Regions from separate parts of the Homo sapiens genome. Here regions 1 and 3 are each linked to region 2. Evidence: promoter capture Hi-C in human tissues and cell types (Jung and others, 2019). All regions are on one chromosome and are shown on one strand. Each heading gives the region's core, a stretch centred on a gene start or on the middle of the fragment in contact. The rest is flanking DNA. Distances are from core to core; before and after follow the strand shown.

The links. Contacts are between HindIII fragments. The study calls those that stand out against the background at their distance.
Region 1: a contact is called between a fragment that was not itself captured here and the fragment with the promoter of ATP6V0C in region 2, in 4 of the 25 tissues and cell types used here (dorsolateral prefrontal cortex, lymphoblastoid cells, mesenchymal stem cells and 1 more).
Region 3: the fragment with the promoter of CCNF here is called in contact with the fragment with the promoter of ATP6V0C in region 2 in 8 of the 25 tissues and cell types used here (H1 embryonic stem cells, IMR-90 fibroblasts, dorsolateral prefrontal cortex and 5 more).

Annotation. Positions count from the first base shown.
Region 1 is chr16:2,411,481-2,415,355 of GRCh38, forward strand. It overlaps the pseudogene ABCA17P. Among named protein-coding and RNA genes, the nearest start is that of CCNF, 16 kb to the right of the region's middle. The HindIII fragment of the contact is 3,526 bases long and covers 131-3,656 here.
Region 2 is chr16:2,512,409-2,516,389 of GRCh38, forward strand. It overlaps ATP6V0C (ATPase H+ transporting V0 subunit c), which reads left to right and starts at 1,544. Exons shown (of 3, transcript NM_001694.4): 1 at 1,544-1,774. The coding sequence starts at 1,696. RefSeq lists an enhancer at 60-354 and silencers at 1,260-1,739, 2,160-2,299. The HindIII fragment of the contact is 15,008 bases long and covers 1-3,981 here.
Region 3 is chr16:2,427,150-2,431,449 of GRCh38, forward strand. CCNF (cyclin F) reads left to right here and starts at 2,298. Exons shown (of 17, transcript NM_001761.3): 1 at 2,298-2,348; 2 at 3,981-4,135. The coding sequence starts at 2,333. RefSeq lists enhancers at 1,359-1,938, 1,374-1,553 and silencers at 1,764-2,613, 2,624-2,673. The HindIII fragment of the contact is 14,340 bases long and covers 1-4,300 here.

The DNA.
Region 1 (3,875 bases), core at 644-3,143, 100 kb before region 2:
CTGGAGTGCAGTGGTGCGATCTCGGCTCACTGCAAGCTCCGCCTCCCAGGTTCACGCCATTCTTCTGCCTCAGCCTCCTGAGGAGCTGGAACTACAGGCACCCGCCACCACGCCCAGCTAATTTTTTGTATTTTTCGTAGAGACGGGGTTTCACTGTGTTAGCCAGGATGGTCTCGATCTCCTGACCTCGTGATCCACCTGTCTCGGCCTCCCAAAGTGCTGGGATTACAGGCGTGAGCCACCGTGCCCAGTCCCCTCTGCTTTTAACTTGGGAGTCATTCTGTCTCCTAAGGGACTCTTGGTGATAGTTTTATCTCCACAAACTATAGAGGCAGGAACTGCATCCTCCTTATCATCTGGAAGATGACACTCAAACAACTTGGGAGCCGGCAATTCACCCCTGCTATCTGGACGCAGATCACCTGTAAACCTCATTTCCCTCTGCCCTCAGCTCCCCCACCTCCGCAGATGCAGCCCATGCTGCGGCTGTGCTCCTGATTTTCCCACACACACCGTGTTCTTGCAGATCCTCCCGCGTGAACAATTGGAAAGAAGTAAAGTGACAGATTCGAGGAGCATAGCAGAAGAAAGATACTTAGGTCTTAGAGGTTGAATGACTATAGAGGAAGAGGAGTCAGGGAGAACCAGTTTTCTGGTCTGGAGGCCTGGGAGTCTGATGTTGTAATGATGGATATACAATAACGTGGGTTAGGATAGATAATAGAAGATATGCCCTTTTCTTCCTGCAAGCAGAGTTAATATTTTCTATTCTCTTCGCATAGCTAGGCTATGCAACAATCTCAAAATCCTTGGATTATACATTCCTAATACTTCCAGGGCACTGCCTGGGGATGGCTTTCACCAACTTATATTACAACTCTGAACTACAGAGGTTTTGCAGTGTCAAGAACCTGAGTGATATTGAGTGTAATGAAGTCTGTGAGTATTGTAAATGGAATTTGTTAATTACATTTTTGTTGAAACATAATTCATATAAAATATGCCCTTTTAAAGCTTACAAGTCAGTAATCTGTCATGAGATAAGAGTTTTTTTAAAAAGAATAAAATTTACAAGTCAGTGGTTTTTGGTATATGCAGAGTAACCTTCCCCACTATCTAATTCTAGAAAATTTTCATCACTCCAAAAGGAAACCCTATACCCATTAACAGTCACTCCCCATTCCCTTCTTCCCCCAGCCCCTCGCAATCACTAATCTGCTTCCTGCTGTTATGAATTTGCTTGTTCTGGATATTTCACATAAATGGAATAATACAATGTGTGAGCTTTGTGTCTGTCTGCTTGTACTTAGAATAATGTTTTCAAGGTTCATCCATGTTGTAAGAGGTGTCAGTGCTCCATCCCTTTGCGTAGCTGAATGTTAGTCCATTGTATGGTTTCACCACAATTTATCTTTTCATCTGTTGATGGACATGTGGGTTGTTTCTGCTTTTGCTATTACGAATAACAGTATTATAAACATTTGGATATGAGTTTTTATGTGAACATGTTTTCAGTTCTCTTGGGTATATACCAAGACTATATTTGCTAGGTCATATGGTAACTGTGTTTAGCATTTTGAGGAACTACAAAACTGTTTTCTACATTAGCTGAACCATTTTACATTCCTACCAGCAAAGTCTGAGGATTCCAGTTTGTCCACATCCTCTCCAACGCTTTAAAAAATTATTTACTTTTTAAATTATAGTACAATATACATAGCATGAAATTTCATTTATCAATTTTTTTTCTTTTTTCTTTTTTTTTTTTTTTTTTTAGACGGAGTCTTACTCTGTCTCCCAGGCTGGAGTGCAGTGGTGCAGTCTCAGCTCTCACTGCAACCTCTGCCTTTTGGGTTCAAGCGATTCTCCTGCCTCAGCCTCCTGAGTAGCTGGGATTACAGGCATGCACCACTGTGCCTGACCTCCTTTCAACATTTCTTATAGGGCAGGTCTGGTGGTAATTTTATGCCCCCTTTTCCAACATTTTTAAATTCCTTTTAAAAATTGTATTATAAAGCCATGTACAGTGGCATGCATCTGTAGTCCCAGCTGTTCAATCTGTAGTCCCAGCTGAAGTGGGAGGATCGCTTGAGTCTAGGAGCTTGAAGCCAGCTTGGGCAACATAGCAAGACCCCATCTCTTTTTAAAAAAAATTATTATAGCTATTCTAATGAGTATAAATTAGTATCACATTGTGGTTTTGGTCTTTGTTTTCCTAATGACTAATGATGTTGAGCATCTTTTCATGTGCTTATTGGCTATTTGTATATCTTCTTGGGAGAGCTATTTAGTCAAATCCCTCCTCCATTTTTAATTAGGTTATTTGTCTTTTTTCTTTTTATCAGGAAGTTGTAAAAATTTTTTTTTTTTTTTTTTTTTTTTTTTGGACAGGTCTTACTCTGTCATCCAGGCTGGAGTGTAATGGCATAATCACGGCTTACTGCAGACTCGACCTCCTGGGCTCAAACCATCTTCCCACCTCAGCTTCCTGTGTAGCTGGGACTACGGGTGCATGCCACTGTGCCCGGCTAATTTTTTAATTTTTTGTAGAGACAGTAGTCTCACTATGTTGCCCAGGCTGGTCTCGAACTCCTGGCCTCAAGCAATCCTCCTACCTCGGCCTCTCAAAATGCTTGCAGGCATAAGCCACCACACCCAGCCAATAATTCTTTACAAAGTTGGATACTAGACCTTGTCAAATATATCATTTTCAAATATTTCCTCCTATATTGCAGGTTGTCTTTTCACTTTCTTGACAGTGTCCCTTGATGAACAAAAGCTTTTAATTATGAAATTATGACAAAGACCAATTTATCTATTCTTTTCTCTTTTGTGTTTTTGATTTAAGAAATTATTGCCTTATGCAAGATAGGGAAGTTTTACCTCTACATTTTCTTCTAAGAGTTTTAGCTTTTTTTTTTTTTTTTTTTTTTTGAGATGGAGTCTTGCTCTGTCACCCAGGCTGGAGTGCAGTGGCGGGATCTTGGCTCACTGCAAGCTCCACCTCACGGGTTCACACCATTCTCCAGCCTCAGCCTCCTGAGTAGCTGCGACTACCGAGTAGCAGGCACCTGCCTGCTACTACGCCCATCTAATTTTGTTTTTGTATTCTTAGTAGAGACGGGATTTCACCATGTTAGCCAGGATGGTCTCGATCTCCTGACCTCGTGATCCGCCTGCGTCGGCCTCCCAAAGTGCTGGGATTACAGGCATGAGCCACTGCGCCCGGCTGAGTTTTAGCTCTTACATTTAGGCCTTTGATTCATTTTAATTTTTTATATGGTGTTAGGTAGAGATCCAAATTCATTCTTTTGCATATATGTGTAATTGTCCCAGTGCCATTTGTTGAAAAGACAAAAGTTTCTGTTTTGGTGGAAGATTTTTAACTACAAATTCAATTTCTTTTCTTTTTTTTTTTTTTTTTTGAGATGGAGTCTTGCTCTGTCACCCAGTCTAGAGTGCAGTAGCACAATCTCAGCTCACTGCAACCTCCACCTCCTGGTTCAAGCAATTCTCCTGCCTCAACCTCCCAAGTAGCTGGGATTTCAGGCGCATGCCACCATGACTGGTGAATAGTTTTTCCTTTTTTTTAGAGGTAAGGTTTCACTTTTTCCCTGGAACTGCAGGCAGGTGCCACCATGCCAGTCTAATTTTTGTATTTTAGTAGAGATGGGGGTCTTGCTATTTTGCCTAGGCTGGTCTCAAACTTCCAGGTTCACGTGATTCTCCTATAGATTCCCCAGAAAAGAGCAGCAAACAGACTTGGCCTCTGTCCAAAGGGAGGGTGCCTTCGGGGGCTGCTGGAGCAGCATGTTCCCTGATAATCAGTGCTGGTGGGTGGTAGAGAACAATGTAACCACCTGCTAGGGGACAGT
Region 2 (3,981 bases), core at 294-2,793:
CGCAGGAGAGAGGAGAGTGTGTGGAGAGGGTGGCAGGCCACGCAGCACAGAGGTCCACTTGGACAGCCTGACAGATGTCCTTCTGCTTAGAGAAATGGCGGTCACCAGTGACCTTGGCAAGGGCAAGGAGCTGGAGAGGGAAGGGCAGGTGAGGAGGTGGAGACAGAGTGAAGATTCGTCTTCTCAGAAACAAGGGCCGGGCAAGAAAGAGGGAGGAGCAGAAAGGGCCTCTGGCCGTATCTGTTGCCTCCTCTCCTTTGAACCAGGACAGACTTAGGGACTTTCACGGGCTGCAAGTTCCAAGAGTGGCAGACCCAGGCTAGCCTGGGGAAGGGGCTTGAGGGAGGCTCCTGCTGGGGAAGGTGGGGCTGAGTCCAGCAGGAGGGCCAGACCAGGGGCCATGACCCCATTGCCTACATAGAGAAGGTGATGAGCCAGCATCCAGGCTACTCAGGGAGAGCTCTAACCCAGGATGAGGCCTTAGAGCTCAAAGGACACTCAGGCCTGGTGGCAGCTGCCCAGGGCCCCTGAAAGGGGGAATGGAGATCAGGCAGAGGGGGTGCCAGGGACTGCCACACAGGATCAGTAGGGCAGCGCCAGCCCTGGCTGGGCTGCTTTCACGGCTGCGGGAACCGCTCCAACTGCTCCAGAAAGACAGAAAGATGGCCCTGAAGGTGCAGGCTTTGCGTGAGTGGGTGGCTGCAAGGACAGGTGGGAGGACCAGGACGCCAGAACGTGCAGAGCCCGGGGGGCCTCCAGAGGTCGCAGTTCCGACAGGGCTTCCACCAGTCATGCCTACATCTTGAGGGGCAGAGACACACCCCACTAATGTTTGGGTCCCTGATGCAAAGGCAGAGACAGGTGCGGGGAGGGGGTCCTTTTTCTCCGAAGCGAGAGGTGAAGTCACCAACTGCTGGGTCAGAGGCAGTAGGTCTGGGTCTGGAGGAGACTGGGGACAGGGTGGAGGGAGGTGACCGCAGCCACGGGCTGGGACTTCACAGGTGTGGGCTGGGGGCTTTTCCGGACGCTGTGGCAGAGGAGGCCCGCGCGCCGCACATCTGCTGGGACCCTTAGCTCGCCCAGGATTGGTAGGGAGATCCTGGAAGACCAGCGCCCGGAGGGGTGAGGCCCCGTCTTGGGGGCAAGGCCGCGAAACCACGGCCTGCAGCTTCACGCCAGGGGTACAAAGAAAAGCGTCGCCGGGAACCCAACACCTGCAGACGACGCGCAGCCGCAGAGGAGGCGGGGCGTCCGAGGCCCCGCCCCGTATGCTAATGAAGCACACACCACACCGCCCCGCCCCGGCGCGAGACCGGTCCAACGCTGCGGAGATCCAGAGGCCGGCGGCGCCCGGAAACACCCGCGGAGGCCGAGGCAGGGCGGGGCCGGGCGCCGGGGCCGGGTCGCTGGGCGGGCGGCACAGCCCGGGGGAGGTCAACGGGCCGGCCGGGCGTCCCGGGGACGCGTCTCCCCCACGGTGCGAAGTGGTACGGCTCGCAGGGGCGGGGCCCAGGTCATGTGACGCGGCCGCGGCCGCCATTTTGTTCTGCGGTGCTGGTATTTAGAGCGCAGCGGCTGACGGGCCGGATCGCCTTCGCCGCCGCCCGCCCGCAAACCTTCGTGCCCGGCCCGTCCTCGCCCCCGCCTCCGCCACCGCCTCGGCCCGCAGAGCTTGCCCCCTCCCCACCCGCAGACATGTCCGAGTCCAAGAGCGGCCCCGAGTATGCTTCGTTTTTCGCCGTCATGGGCGCCTCGGCCGCCATGGTCTTCAGCGGTGAGCGCGGCGGCGGGAGGGACTCGGGGGCGGGGGCGCGCGCGTTGCTCATGCCCGCAGCTCGCCGGGGTCCGGTGTGTGACGTCACTCTGACGTAATCCCGAGCTGTCGGGGGCGCCCGGGCCTCGTGTGACAGCGGGCGGGGGTCGGCGCCCCGAGGGCTGCGGGGAGCCGCCGGGGGTCCGGGGCGCAGGGCGTGCGGGCCTGGCCGGGGTGTGAGTCTCGGGGGTCCGGGCCGGCGGCCCTGCCAGCCGGGTCGTGCGGTTGCGGGGGTGGGGCGGCGGCGCCGCTGCCATATTAGCCCCGGGAGCGGCGAGAGGGAGGCTGGGGTGGGGGCGCGAGGGGGGCGGCGCGAGGGGGGCCGATTCTGCGGGCAGGTGACATCACACCTCGAAGGCCCCAGTGCGCGGGCGGCGGCGCGGGTCCGGCCCAGGAACGCCCAGCCGGTCGCTGGAGCTTTCCGGCTGGTGGGGAGCCCATGTCCCCCACGGGAGGTCCTCAGCCCTCGCCCTTATGGCGGCCGGCCCCGAGGGTCAGGTGGGTCTCACCCACAGGCAGGTACTTCCGGTTGGAGCTGGTTACAGTTGCCCAATACCCGTGTCGCTGTGTGGGCTGTTTGGGAAAGCTGGGCTGAGGGCTTGGTTCGGAGAGCCCGCGGAGACCCGGGTGGGAGTGTGTGGAAGTGGAGGGAGCGGGGAGACAGCAGCATCGGCGCTGGCGGGGCTGTGTAGCTTGCAGAGGGTCTGTGCTCTGAGGTGGGTGAGAGGGTGGCATGGGTGTCCGAGTTTATGGGATCCAGTCGTTGCCCTCAGGACTGAGGCTTCCAGTTGTGGTCCTAATGAATGGAGGGGTGAATGAATGACCTTCCTTTCCCTCCCTGAGGCCTGAAGTTGGGAGGGGCTTCCCTGGGCTTGGAGAAGGGGCCTTCTAGGGTTCTTGGTGGCACCCTGCTTTTGAAATTGGGCCTTGACAGGTCCTGGGCGTCCAATTTAGTGACAATTGGTCTCCCTGGGAGAATGGCACTTGGGCTAGGGCTAGGCCCAGGAATGTGGGTCCGACGAGTTAAGTTCTGGCCCAGTCTCAGCCTCCGTGGACTGGCCTGGCCTGGTCTGATTTCCGCCTCCGTGGTTAGGTCTGGTTTTAGCTTTGATGACCGTGCCCTGCCCCACCCTGCCTGGTGGCCTGGGGAGGCTCCTAGTGCAGATATGTGGAGGGTTTGAACTCCAAACAGTCTCTGCTGACTGTAAACACCTGTGGGGTGGGGGCTTGGAGCTCTCTGTTCTCTTGCGGGCCTCCTTCTGCCTGGGCCTGTCTGCCATTCGTGAGTGAGCCCTGGCCTTCCCGTCGTGTGCAAGTAAGGGGTCATTTGTGGTGGAAGAAGTGGTCTAGACTTCTCCTTCCCCCTAGGCACCGCCTGCTCTTTCCACAGACTCAAGGCTTCTCCCAACAGGCTGCCGAGCCCTTCCCCCCAGCCTCCTCTGTTCTTTGCCCTCAGAATGCCTTCAGAGATTCCATTTTGCCTGGCCACCTGTGGGGTATTAGCTTGTGGCTGTCACTCATTCATCCAAACAATCTTGATTGAGCGCTTACTATGTGCCAGGTACTGGTAGGACAGCAGTGAACAAAATGGGATCCCCGCCCATGTGGAACTTAAATTCTAGCTGTTGCTGCTTGCCCTTGAAGCCCTGAGTTTGTCCACCAAGCCCTTTTTCTGCACCCAGCTCCTTTCCTCTCTCTCCGTCAAGACCTACACAGGTCTTTGGGCAGCCTGACCAGCAGGTGTCTGGAAATTGAGAACACGGTATTGCTGGCCTAGGCCTTTCCTGCTTATCCCTGGCTCTTCGGGATAAACGTGGCTTACTGTGGCTCTCCAGGAGCTGACCTCTGACTTCACTTGGCCAATTCAGACAACTGCTTTTTTTTTTTTTTTTTTTTTTCTCCCCTCCTCAAGACAGGGTCTTGCTCTGTTTCCCAGGCTGGAGTGCAGTGGTGTGGTCATGGCTCACTACAGCCTCAACCTCCCAGGCTCAAGCAATCCTCCTGCCTCAGCCTCCTGAATAACTAGGACTACAGGCACAGGCTACCATGCCCAGCTAATTTTTTTTTTTTAGAGACAGGGTCTCGCCATGTGGCTCAGGCTGGTCTCAAACTCCTTGTTGCCTCAAACGATCCACCTGCTTCTGCCTCGTAAAGGGCTGGGATTATAG
Region 3 (4,300 bases), core at 1,048-3,547, 85 kb before region 2:
ATGTACACTCACCTCTCTTCTGAGACGGGCTCCATCCCGTGGCCTTTCTCTCTCTGTGGAGTTCACTCTGCCCCTTGCCACAGGCCCCTCAGCTCCTCTCTGGGAAGTGCAGATGCTGGTCTCTGCCCCTTCTCAGCCAGGACTCAGGAAAGGGTCATGCACAGGCCTTGCCTATGGTTCCTGCACCCCTTGCCCAGAACAACGGCGTTGCACACCCATGGTCGCCAACCCACCCTCCTCAGTCCTCGTTTCAGGTGACTGCTCCCTGTGATGAAAGCCACTCCCTGGGCTCCCATATCCAGCTCTCATTCCTCCCATGCCCCTCTCTGCCTCCACTGAAGGCCCATCTTCTTCTCTGAATGTGGGATTTCTCAGGCTCCCAAGCTACTTCACTTTCCCTTCTCTCCCCTGCCCCTCACTACCCATAACGTTTTCAACCGACACCTCATTCCACCAGGAATTTCCCTGAGCTCCTAACAGTTTAGACTTTTCCAACAAGGTCTCACCTTCCTGAAGCCCAGTGGGAAACGGGCCCACACCCTGGAGGAGCCACTTATCACCCCAGGGCAGCCCTGGAGGCTCCCACTGCCAGTGCAGGGTGTGGGGCGAGAGCAGGCATGGCTGCAGTCAAGACAACTCCTGCTCCCTGAAAAAGAAATTTGCCTGTCCATGTTGAAAGGAGAGTGATCAGGACACAAAGCACAGGATAGAGCTAAACAACAACCTAGGGACCAAGGATGCTGTTCTAGATTCTAGAGGCAGCTGGTGTGGCTAATGTGCTCATGGCTGGCTCTAGTTGATTAATCCCTTCAAGATGCTATGGAAGCTAACCCTGAAAGTGCACCTCTGCCCTAGGGGGAGACAGGTAACAGTGACAAAGTAGGAAACAGTAACCCAGGAGGACAAAAGTGAGATAAGGGGATAATAAATCTGGGGGCTGAGAACATGGGACATCTGGGGAGCAGGCCCCAAACTCGCTCAGCCTGTCCTCTCTTCACCCTCCTTCACCCGCTTCCTGATTCCGGGACAGGGAATATTCCCAACTTCCAGACCCTCTCTGGGGCCACGGACTCTTCTGTACCCTGTGCTGTGATCACCTGTTTACTCTGTCTCTTGCCCCAGGCCGGCTGAAGCCTGCACGCCAGGGCTCCTGTCTGTGTGCCCAGGGCAGGCCCAGTACTTGAAGGAGTTCTATGGGGACCCGGAAGGATGGAAGGGTGCAGACTGAGGGAAGCGTGAGGGAGGGGTGGGCAGCCTTGGCCCAGGCCCCTGCCTTCCCCAGGAAAAGCCCCCTCTGTCCTCCACCAGACAGTCAGGAGGCTGCGAGTCTTCCCCTTGACAGCCTGTGCCGTAAAAGGGGTGCGGTGTGGCTGACTCCTGAAGGACAGCTCAGATGGGCACTGCCCAAGACAAGAGTGAGCAGATACGACACTTCCCGCGGCGAGCAGCTCCAGGTAGCAGCCGAGGAGGCCAGACAGGGGGCAGCATCTGGCCAAAGTGATGGGGAGGGCTTGCCCCGGGGCTGGAGCACTGAGGCGTCCAGGGTGCGCCACGTTTCGCGGGAAGAAGGGGTCAGCGTTCCGCGGGGGAGACTTCCCAGCGTCAGCTCCGACCTCCTCTTTCTCTACCACGATCCCGGCCAGCATCCCCGCCCAGCAGCGGCTCAGCCACAAACCCAAGGGTCTCCACCTGAAGCAGGCGGCGGAAGGGAAGGCCGTGCAAGCTGGGGGTGAGGGTCGCGGGCCCAGGAGCGACCCCGGGACCCGGGCAGGGCACGGCCTCGTCTTAGAAGCGCCACGTCGAGGCTGTCCCAGGCTGGATCACGGCCGCGACTGCGAGGGACGCCAAGGAGTCCTCTTTCCCCTGGCCGCAGGCGTGCGCCTTCGCAGCCCATCTGGCACCGCAGATGCCGGTCGCCGGGGTCAGCGGCGAAGCCCGAACCCATGCGGCCGGGAGGGGACGCCCACAAACCCCTGCCCGCCGGCCGGGAAGCGCTCCTACGGGACCCCAGCCCCGTTGGGGAGGCGGGGCGGCCACGCGGGTTCCACCAATCAGCGGCCAATGTTCGAATTCGCGTCCTGGCGCGGCCAATGGCGGGTCCCGGAGCAGGCGGGGAGGGCGTGGAGGGCGGTAAATGAGGCGAGCACAGGGCGGGACATGGGCGGGGCCGGCGGCGGCCCCCCCGGGCAGGCCAATGGGAGGGCCGGGTGCGTTTGAAAACTGGGGTGGGCGGCGGGGCGGGGTCTGCGCCTGCGCGAGGGCTACGCGCGCTCCGGCCGGGGCGCGGGCGCGCTCTCAGGCGGGCTCCGGCGGCAGCGACGCGAGCGCGGCGATGGGGAGCGGCGGCGGTGAGTGCGGGGCGATGTCCGCTGGTTTCTGCCCCACACCCCTTCTGCCTGCCCTGCGGGGCGGACGGTGGGTCCCGCGGGAGGGGAGGCCCTGGCGGCCTGAAGAGGGCTGGCTCGAGCTCTTTAACCCGGGGCGGATGTCGCGTCCCGCGCAGGGAGCCCCGGCGGCCGGGCGCGCGGTTTAAATGCCCGGCGGGCGCCCGAGCCCCTCGGAGCCTTCCCCCGCGGCGACGTTTTCCGGCCCTTTCCTGGGGCAACGATCGGGTCCCGGGGCAGCGATCCGGCGATCGGGTCCCGGGGCGGCGATCGGGTCTCGGGGAGCCAAACACCAGCGCCTCCTGGTCGGGGAAAGGGCTGCGGAGCGCGTGGGGGCGAAGCGATCCCGCAGCCCGGCCGGGCCCTGACCGAGCCTCAGTCCAGCGGGGCCGTGGACCTAGCTCTGTGGAAAGCAGCGTTCGGCCCCGCGCGCGTTGAGGCACAGGAAACACGAACTGTGGTTTCAGCTATTATCATAGTATCTGTCCTGGAGCCGGAGAATGAGGAATATTTTATGGAGAGGTCTATAGAATCTTTGAGAATTCGTCGCCCTGGAATACGTTTGGCTTTTGCAGCTGATTTAATTGCTAACAGGAAGACCCCGGTCAAGAGAGGGGAGCCGGGAGCAATCGCTAGGAAGTCCTAGCAAGGCGGGGAGGGATTTGGGCCCACAGAGGGGAGTGGCGCTTCCTTTCAGGACTGGAAGGAAGGATGGATAGAAAGGTAGATTTGTAGATGGGGAGGCAGGATCCTGAGGTTCCTGTCTGAGGGCTTCTGTTTCCCTGTGAAATAAGGGCTAAGGTCATCTGCTTAGAGTGAGGAAGGGGTTGCTGGAGTAGGAGTTGGAAAATCCGGCTGTGGGAAGAGGAGAGAGCACATCTGAGAAGCATGTCCGGGCTGCCTGCCTGGTGGGTGGAATGCCCGTCTCACCTTTAATGATTGCATCTGTACACAAACCTACAGGTCTAGGTTTGTGTTGGGACCTGAGCAACAACCTTACTGCGTAGCTGTCAACTCCGCATTCTACAATAGAGGGCACACTGAGACTCTGCAGAGCTGAGACTTGGACGCACACTGCCCCGGCCTCCAAGTCTGTGGCTTCTCTCCAGGGCCGACCCTTCTAATTTGGACTTGAAAACCAGACTCTTCAAGCCCACAGATCTTTATTGAACATTATGCACCTTGGTCACGTGTGCAAAAAGCAAAGCTATCCAGCAAAGGCCCCAGGAGTTTTCCTGAGAGTGAAATAGAAGGAAAACCGTCCTCAGCTTCGGCAGCTTTTTCCCCTTCCTGCCTGTCATGTGGGCTCTGGATCAGAAAGTTTCCCAATAGCCAAGTTACATGACATGCGCTATTTGCCATAAATATTTGTTGAATATTTGAAAATGAATGATCTCTTCTGTAATTTGTGCAATGCCACTCCTTTACATAATCTTTGTTTGGGACAAGAAGCATAGTTCCATCTTTTGTGGCACAGGGAATAGTAACCATTAGATCATCTTCAGATGTAACTTTTATCCTTTTTTTTTCCCTTCAAGGGTGTGTATATAGAATAATTTTTCATCTTATCAAGGCTTCTGTCTTTTTTTCCTTCAGTGGTCCACTGTAGGTGTGCCAAGTGTTTCTGTTATCCTACAAAGCGAAGAATAAGGAGGAGGCCCCGAAACCTGACCATCTTGAGTCTCCCCGAAGATGTGCTCTTTCACATCCTGAAATGGCTTTCTGTAGAGGACATCCTGGCCGTCCGAGCTGTAAGTCCCTGCATGAAAACACTATGAGCCCTAGCATTGTTGATTATACCATCAGGCCTTGTGTTCTTAACTGTCAGAACAAAACTTTGGCTAAAAAAGAGGTTGGGGCAGAGGCCAGGCACGGTGGCTCATGCCTTAATCCTAGCACTTTGGGAGGCCGAAGGG